Linked DNA regions of Homo sapiens: regions 1 and 2 are each linked to region 3. The links are contacts of gene promoters, found by promoter capture Hi-C in human tissues and cell types (Jung and others, 2019). All regions are on one chromosome and are shown on one strand. Each heading gives the region's core, a stretch centred on a gene start or on the middle of the fragment in contact. The rest is flanking DNA. Distances are from core to core; before and after follow the strand shown.

Region 1 (2,700 bases), core at 115-2,614, 150 kb after region 3:
TATTTTTAGTAGCAACGAGGTTTCACCATGTTGGCCAGGCTGGTTTTGAACTCCTGACCTCAAGTGATCCACTTGCCTCAGCCTTCCAAAGTGCTAGGGTTACAGGCATGAGCCACCACTCCCGGCCCCAGGCTTACTTTGTGTATTTCGTGCCAGAGTTGTAGATTCAGCTGGCTCTCCAAGGCCACTGCCTTTTTAGCAAATGTTTTCTCTCAGGTATGTTGACATAGAGTGATGTGGATGCCTTGAGTTATTTCTTCTCTTGATGGTTAGTCATAGTTACTAGAGACTCTGGAGTTGGGAAAGGTAGAGGTGGACCTGGGAAATCTACCCCCTGAGAATCAACTGCAGTCCTGGGAGTTAATCCCAGTAGCTGGCTGTTGTTCTACTCACCCATTCATACTGCTCTTACCCCTGCCTGATGCTATGACTGATCCAAAAAATGGTCTGATTTGGTCTTTCCTTTGGAATTTACCTATGGAGGTGTGGGAAGATGAGGCATGTGTATATAATCGTTCTCTATTTCAGGTGCTAAGTTCTCCAGCTAAACCTTCCTGGACTCTGGGTCTTGTAAGAGATTCCACATGGTCCGGGCCAGTCAGTGTCTTTTGCTGCCCTTCCAAAATGGACTGCCCCCATGGGACGGTTTGTGGCTGTTGGCGGGCTCAGGGTAGGCTGTCACTTTGTGCCGTGATCCTGAATCATTGAATAGCTGAAATCCTTCCATTGTACTGTCATCTCTCTGAAAATGTGTAACTTGAGCCCTGCTGGAAACACTAACTTGGGATCTTAACAGGAGTTGGTTTACAAGCCTTTTGCCTTCTATTCATAGCTCCATGTATGTCCCCTTCAGGTGGCTGTCAGAGGCATCCCAGGCATGGAGGAGGGCGTGGGTGGCCTCTCTAACCCTGGCTGCTCTCCTAGACATCAGATTGCTCTCTGAGCTGCTCAGACAGCGTGGTGATGAATGACGCCAGTTTCCAAACCTCTAGCATTTGCAGCCTGGTTTTTAAAAGGAACTCTGCTTTCTTTGTCAGCTGCTCTATTCCTGTCCCCTAGCCCTCTCAACAACTGAACTGCTTCTTCCCTTTCCTGAAAGAGGCTTTGAGATGGAAGGAAGGGCATTTGGGCTTTAAGATGCTTTGTGGGCTGGGCGCGGTGGCTCATGCCTGTAATCTCAGTACTTTGGGAGGCCAAGGCGGGGGGATTGCTTGAGCGCAGGAGTTTGAGATCAGCCTGGGCAACATGATGAAACCCCATCTCTACCAAAAAAAAACCCAAGATGCTTTGTGTTAATGGGGCTTTTTTTTTTTTTTTAAGAGGTTATGGTTTGCATGGTTGGGGCCTTCACCCCATGCAGATTTATTGGATGGTAATGGTTTCTCCCCTCCATTTTTGTGGTTTTGGGAGCTAGTCTCTGGAGGATACAAGATTGGGGTTGTTGACAGGACACTGAGTATCTTCTAGGAAACTGAGGAAAGACGTCCTCTTCAGCATTCTCTCCAAATGAGAGGTGCTGAAGAATGGAGTCCCGGGAAACTGGAGGTAAGAGGAATGTGTGAATGTTGTCTGACAGATGAAGTGAGGAGTCCGGCTCCTTCACAGGGAAGTGAAGGCGCAGGGGCTCCCCTGCTACAGAACATGTACTGAATGCTTCCCGATGCCAGGCCCTTTGCTGAGAGTCTCACATGCATCATCTTCCTGGCAGTCCTGGAGACGGGTGGTACTGGTCTCTCCATTTTACGTGTGAGGAAATGGGTTCAGTGACAACACCAGGCCACCCTAGTAAGTGGTGCCTCCAGAACTTGAACTGAAGTTCAAGTTGTCTGACTCCAGCACTTGTGCTCTTAAGCTCTGTGCAGTAGGGATGGAGGAAGTCCTCCCTGGGGAAGTGAGGCAGCTCCTCAGCTGCTCTGTGGCTCTGTTAGGGGACCCGAGCCGTCTGGCAGATGAATGCAGATTTAAGCCCTCAACTTCCCCCGTTCACTTGCCAAGTGTAAGCGGGCGGTACCTCTCACATGCACAGTTCACCGTATCTGTGCTCACCTACTATGGGTCAGGCTTGCTGTTATGTGCTGTTAACACAAAGGAAACCCATTGTCCAGCCTTTGAGAATTTTGTAATGTGGTTGTTTTCATCTGCAACAGTGCCTTTAATTTCTCTTGCTTTCTCTCTCACAACCCTCAGTCCCCCAAGTTCTCCAGCCCCTTGCCACCTACACTAGTCTTATGAACATTTGGGGCCATGGAAGCAGAAGTGTGATTCGCTCATTGAATCTTGTTTAGACCTATTCATTGCTTGATTTCTTCACTGGGCACCACTCTACAGTTTGTTCAGCAAAAATTAAGAAAGATGGCAGACACAGTGGCTCATGCCTGTAATCGCAGCACTTTGGGAGGCTGAAGCAGGTGGATCACTTGAGCCCAGGAGTCTGAGATCAGCCTGGGCAACATGGTGAAACCCCATCTCTACAAAAAATAGAAAAATTAGCTGGGCATGGTGGCATGCGCCCGTAGTCCCAGCTACTTGGGAGGCTGAGGTAGGAGGATTGCTTGAGCCCAGGAAGTCAAGGTAGCGGTAAGCTATGATTGCGTCACTGCAATCCAACCTGGGCAGCAGAGCAAGACCCTGTCTCAAAAATGTATATAGAAAAAAGAGCTGGGTGTGGTGGCTCATGCCTGTAATCCCAACACTTTGGGA
Region 2 (2,700 bases), core at 45-2,544, 200 kb before region 3:
CCGGCTAATTTTTGTATTTTTAGTAGAGGCAGGGTTTCACCATGTTGGCCAGGCTGGTCTCAAACTCCTGACCTCATGTGATCCACATGCCTCAGCCTCCCAAAGTGCTGGGATTACAGGCGTGAGCCACCATGCCCTGCCAGAATGAGCACCTCTTCACAGGGAGTACACAAGATCTGAGGTGTCAACATGTTTATTTATTTTTTAATAGAGATGGGGTCTCACTATGTTGCCCAGGCTGATCTTGAAATCCTGGGCTTAAGCAATCCTCCTACCTCGGCCTCTAAAAGTGCTAGGATTGGCTGGGCGCAGTGGCTCACGCCACCCAGCACTTTGTAATCCCAGCACTTTGGGAGGCCAAGGCGGGTGGATCATGAGGTCAGGAGATCGAGACCATCCTGGCTAACACAGTGAAACCCTGTCTCTACTAAAAATACAAAAAAATGGCCGGGCGCAGTGGCTCACGTCTGTAATCCCAGCACTTGGGGAGGCAGAGGCAGGCAGATCACCTGAAGTCAGGAGTTAGAGATCAGCCTGGGCAACATGGTGAAACCCCGTCTCGACTAAAAATACAAAATTAGCCGGGCGTGATGGCACATGCCTATAATCCCAGCTACTCGGGAGGCTGAGGCAGGAGAATCGCTTGAACCTGGGAGGCAGAGGATGTGGTGAGCTGAGATCGTGCCATTGCACTCCAGCCTGGGCAACGAGAGTAAATCTCTGTCTCACCTAAAAAAAATAAAAAAAAAATTAGCCGGGCATGGTGGCGGGTGCCTGTAGTCCCAGCTATTCGGGAGGCTGAGGCAGAAGAATGGCGTGAACCTGGGAGGCAGAGCTTGCGGTGAGCCAAGATCACGCCACTGCACTCCAGCATGGGTGACACAGCGAGACTCCGTCTCAAAAAAAATTAAAAATAAAATTAAATTAAAAAAACAGTGCTAGGATTAACATCTTTAATTTTAATTCAGTTATTCAACAGCATTTAAAGTGAGGCATTAGAAGAAACAATGAACAAAAAGGCCAGGCATAGTGGGTCACACCTGTAATCCCAGCACTTTGGGAGGCTGAAGCAGGAGGCTTCCTTGAGCCCAGGAGTCCAAGACTAGCTTGGGCAACATAACAAGACCCCGTCTCTAAAAAAAATTAAAAATTATCAGCCTGGGCAACATAGCAAAACCCATCTCTAAAAAAATTTTAAAAATTAGCCAGGCATGGTGACACATGCCTGTAGTCCCAGCTACTCCAGAGGTTCAGGCGGGAGAATCACTTGAGCCCACGAGGTTGAGGCTGCTGTAAGCCGTGATTTCACCATTGCACTACAGCCTAGGCAACAGAATGAGACCCAGTCAAAAAAAAATCATAAAATAAAAAATTAGCCAGGTGTGGTGCTGTGCGCCTGTGGTCCTAGCTATACAGGAGACTGAGTTGGGAGGATCTCTTGAGGCCAGGAGTTTGAGGCTGCAGTGAACTACAGTCGTGCTGCTGCACTCCAGCCTGGGTGACAGAGGGAGACTCTGTCTCAAAACAAACCAAACCAACCAAACAAACAAAAAAAACTCTAGAGGAAAAAGATAACAAGCTTTTTTTTACCTGGATTTATCTCTCGGTAAGTTCCAATTCCATAAGCATCTACTATGTTCTGAAAGCCATAGGTAAACTTGTTGGTTTTGTTATAGGTTGGGGGAGTCTGGTTTGTCTGCATCCTGTTCAAAATGGAAGGTACAGTGGAACCACTGTGTTCCTGAAAAACATTAGCACATTTATCAAACTTAGGTTATCCTCCTAATTGTGGTAGTGGTTACACAGGTGTACATTTCTTGAAACTCATCAAATGGTACACATAAAATGTATGTATTTTCTTTCATGTAAATTATATCTCAATAAAACTAATAAACCTAAAAATAAAACTAGATTATCTTTCCCAGCTTTTGGGAAAACTGGGAAAAGGTATAACATTTATAATGGAAGATTTCTATTAGATCCTCTGAAATACATCCTTAATGTGAAAAAAATTTAACTTTAAAATATGTCACCAAAGAAAATGTGGAACTGCCTCCATATCTGCCTTTTTATGAAAGTTGTTCTCCCCCTTTCATGGAGAAAGCAAAGTATGTTCTCTGGCTCTCCTTCTTCACTACCTTCTCTTAACTTCCTGATCCCTTGCAGTCTGGCTGAGCATGCTTAGGCAAAGTGACTGGCTCCTGACCAAAGAGCTTCTCTCCCCCATGCACGCCCCTGACATTGGAGATCTTTGGTGAAAATCCTTCTTCCTTAGGAGTTCTCCTCCTGCTCGCTGACCATTGCTTTTCTATCTTTGCTGGTTATTTCTGCTCTGCCTATCTCATAGCATTGCAAGACCCCAACCTTTTTTTTCTCTCTATGACCTCCCTCTTGGAGGTCTCATTCCCTTCCATTCTCATGACTCCCATTTCCTTAGCTTTGTTCCCTTGTCTGCTTGACATTTCCACATAGACCTCAATGTGCCCGGAACTGAACTTACCATCTCTCCCCAATCAATAAGCTTCTCTGGCTGAACATTTACTTCCCTCATTGGAACCCTAATTCTCCTGGCCAGTCAGCTTTGATGCCTCAAAAAGATGTTTAAATCTTTCTCCTTGTATTTCTCCTGCACCTTGCTAGGAACCAGGTAGCCCTATTGATTTTTCCTGCAGAACATCTCACAATTCATCATTTTTTTTC
Region 3 (2,700 bases), core at 121-2,620:
CCCTTGGGGCAGGGCAGAAGAGAAAAACCTACTGTGGCACCTCCTTGGGCAAGGAGGTCAGGGAGCTGGAATAAAGTGGAAACCCCAGGCTCATGACCGAGGGCACTCCAGGGCCCACAAGACTTGTTCCCAGCAGCTCCACAGACATCCGAGTCTAAAAACATTCTCTGTCCTCCCAGGCTTCCCCTTTCCCAGGGGCACCACCCCTTCCGCACAAAGAAGGACAGGCAGGACCAGAGTCACACCAAACCACCATGAGTAAAACTAGAGGCCAAAGGGCCTGGATGGTAGGGACCCTCTGAGGAGGGGCAGGGCGGGACGTGCCTACCATGGCTGGCTCTCAATCCACTGGGCCAAGTAGTGCCGGACCTCGATGGGGAAGTGCTGGCCGTACAGCACCTGCATCTGGCGCAGCGCGTCTCCCTGCAGCTGCTGGGCCTGGATCCAGCCCGCCATGGCCGTTCACCTAGGGCGAGCCGAGCGCTGAAGCGCTCTCCTCTGCAGAGGCCAAGGAACCGGGCCTGCCCCTGGCCTTGCCATGCCTACCTATCCCTGGACCGCGGCCAGGCCAGGCCCCTCCCCTCCCACAGATAGCTTTCCTGTGCGGGAACAGAGATGGTGAGGAGTGGAGGGCCGCCCATCCCCTCCAACAAGGAACCCGCTGAAGGGGAGGGGAAGGTGCTCTGCAGAGGCAGGTGCCCTCCCCGTCTTCCTCTCCCCTCGCCCCACCGGAGCTTCCCTAGTGAGGGGGACGGCCAGAAACTGAAAGAGAAACTTGACGGCGGGAGGCCCACAGGCCCCCTGGAGAGGGCTGCAAGGATCCCCCAGCCCACCTCGGGCCCGGTTTCTGGGAAGGGGAGATATTCCAACCCGAAGTTAGGCCAGCGCCACGACGGCTCCCACTCGACGGCTAGGGCTTTTCGGGCACGTGGCTGGGGCTGTTCAGGAGACAGGGCTGAGGACTTGGGCGCTCCCCTCTTCGGCTGCTCCCCCATCTGTGCACTAGTGCCTCCCCGGGTCCAGCCCGACAGGTGCTCCCTCTCCGAGGCGTGCCAGGACGGCGCCCTCCCTGGCCTCTGCCTTTCATCCCCGACCCCTGTCCCCACGTCCCCCCGTCCCTCGTCTGCGCTGGGCCAACTCCCTCGCAGTGCCGGGGACTGATCCCCGCGCTGCGCCCGGCCGTCGAGCTCCGGGTGCCGGAGGTGCCGGGGCGGCAGTAGAGTGTCCCCTCTCGGCGCGCCGCCGAGGACGCGCCACCGGGTCACCCACCTGGTGGGGCCGCACCGTCCGGCAGCCGGGCCGGCTCTGCGCCCCGCGGCTCTCGCTCCCGGCCGGGGTTCCTGGCGGCGGCGGCAGCGGCGGCTGTTACTACAGGAAGGAGCGGAGAGCAGCGATTTCCTCCTCAAAGGTCAGCTGCCTGCGATAGACCATACACAGCGCGCGAGCCCGCGCCAGCAGCCCTCCCAGCCCCGCTTGCTCCCTCCCTGCCTCGCCCTCAGTCGCCGGCTCCCCTGCAAGTGCGCAACAGCGGCGGCCGTTCCCGGCGGGCGGCGCCGGGCGTGGGGGCTGCCCCGACGGCGGGGTCCCCCGGGAGTCCCAGCAGGCCCTCGGCGGCGGCTCCCAGGGAGCGTCCCGGAACCGGGGCGGGTCAGAATAGCCGGGGGAATGTGGTTGTCGGGCGTTGCCGGGAAATCCCGGGCTCTGGAAATCCCAAACCTGGGCCTCAGTTTTCTCATCCGCAAAAAGGGAGGAGGGAAAAGTGGACCAATTGGCGACGCCTTCCAGCTCTGGCGCGTGTCATCTTTTGAGCCCCTAGATTAAAAAATAAATGTGTGGGGTGTGTGTGTGCACGCGCGTGTGTGCGCATGTGTGTCTTGGGGGCCACAGGTTTTGTGACCTCAGAGACAAAACTGTAGAGAGGGGAAGAACTGGGGATTCTAGTGAAGCCAAGATCACCCCCACCACCGCAGCACCTCCCTCCTTCTTTTACTCCGGCCATCTAAACTCAACCCTGACGGAGGAACTGGAAAGAATCTTGGCAGTCATGTGTTTCAGCCCTCCCCCTCTCCACAATTTTGCAGGTAAGAAATGGAAGTCCTGAGAGGGAAAGGGGCTTGCCCGGGGCCACCCAGGGCCACACAGTAGGCACGTGGCCTCACCAGCCGACTGTGATCCATAAACTAGCCAGCGCCCCCGTTCACCCAGCCTAGTTACTTATGAGGCTGGTTCTACCTTCAGAAAAGTCCAGGGAGGGACCGTCTTGAGTCCTCCTAACTTCGAAACTCTCTACAGGCCTTGCCACAGCAGTGAATATCCTGTCTAGAGCCTCAGTCCCCCTCTCCAAGAGGCCCCTTCCCACGAGGCCCAAGGGGTTTGGTAAGGTCGGGCTGGACGCCTTCCATCCCCTTTGCCCAGCTTCCCTCTCCTCTGGGCCTCCCCTCTGCCTGGCAGCGGGTTGGCAGCACCAGAGGAGGGGCCAGCCCAGCTGCCCACTCACAGCACAGCTGGGCCAAGACTGCATGTTCTGTTGGGGGGGGTGCATTCTCATCTGCCTCCCTCCCCAGCTGCTTCTCAGAGCTGCCCTTTTCTCTCCATTTCCACTCTCCTTTCTTGCCCCTTACTACCTCTCCCAGTTTCATTCTTTTAACTTCAGAGGAAAAAAAAAAAAAGAACTTCAAAGCTGCAGAAGCCAAAATGTCT

What was found. Contacts are between HindIII fragments. The study calls those that stand out against the background at their distance.
Region 1: a contact is called between a fragment that was not itself captured here and the fragment with the promoter of STAT5A in region 3, in 1 of the 25 tissues and cell types used here (mesenchymal stem cells).
Region 2: a fragment that was not itself captured here is called in contact with the fragment with the promoter of STAT5A in region 3 in 1 of the 25 tissues and cell types used here (pancreas).

Annotation. Positions count from the first base shown.
Region 1 is chr17:42,140,782-42,143,481 of GRCh38, reverse strand. The region is part of intron 1 of RAB5C (RAB5C, member RAS oncogene family); the gene reads left to right. Among named protein-coding and RNA genes, the nearest start is that of RAB5C-AS1, 12 kb to the left of the region's middle. The HindIII fragment of the contact is 7,835 bases long and covers 1-2,700 here.
Region 2 is chr17:42,489,528-42,492,227 of GRCh38, reverse strand. It overlaps ATP6V0A1 (ATPase H+ transporting V0 subunit a1), which reads right to left. Exons shown (of 22, transcript NM_001130021.3): 11 at 1,591-1,741. Among named protein-coding and RNA genes, the nearest start is that of MIR548AT, 3.9 kb to the left of the region's middle. The HindIII fragment of the contact is 3,999 bases long and covers 1-2,700 here.
Region 3 is chr17:42,287,168-42,289,867 of GRCh38, reverse strand. STAT5A (signal transducer and activator of transcription 5A) reads right to left here and starts at 1,370. Exons shown (of 19, transcript NM_001288718.2): 1 at 1,270-1,370; 2 at 329-466; 3 at 1-2. The coding sequence starts at 456. It also overlaps a transcript of STAT5B not described here. RefSeq lists enhancers at 307-366, 1,813-2,313, 2,597-2,656 and silencers at 1,017-1,696, 1,717-1,796. The HindIII fragment of the contact is 10,924 bases long and covers 1-2,700 here.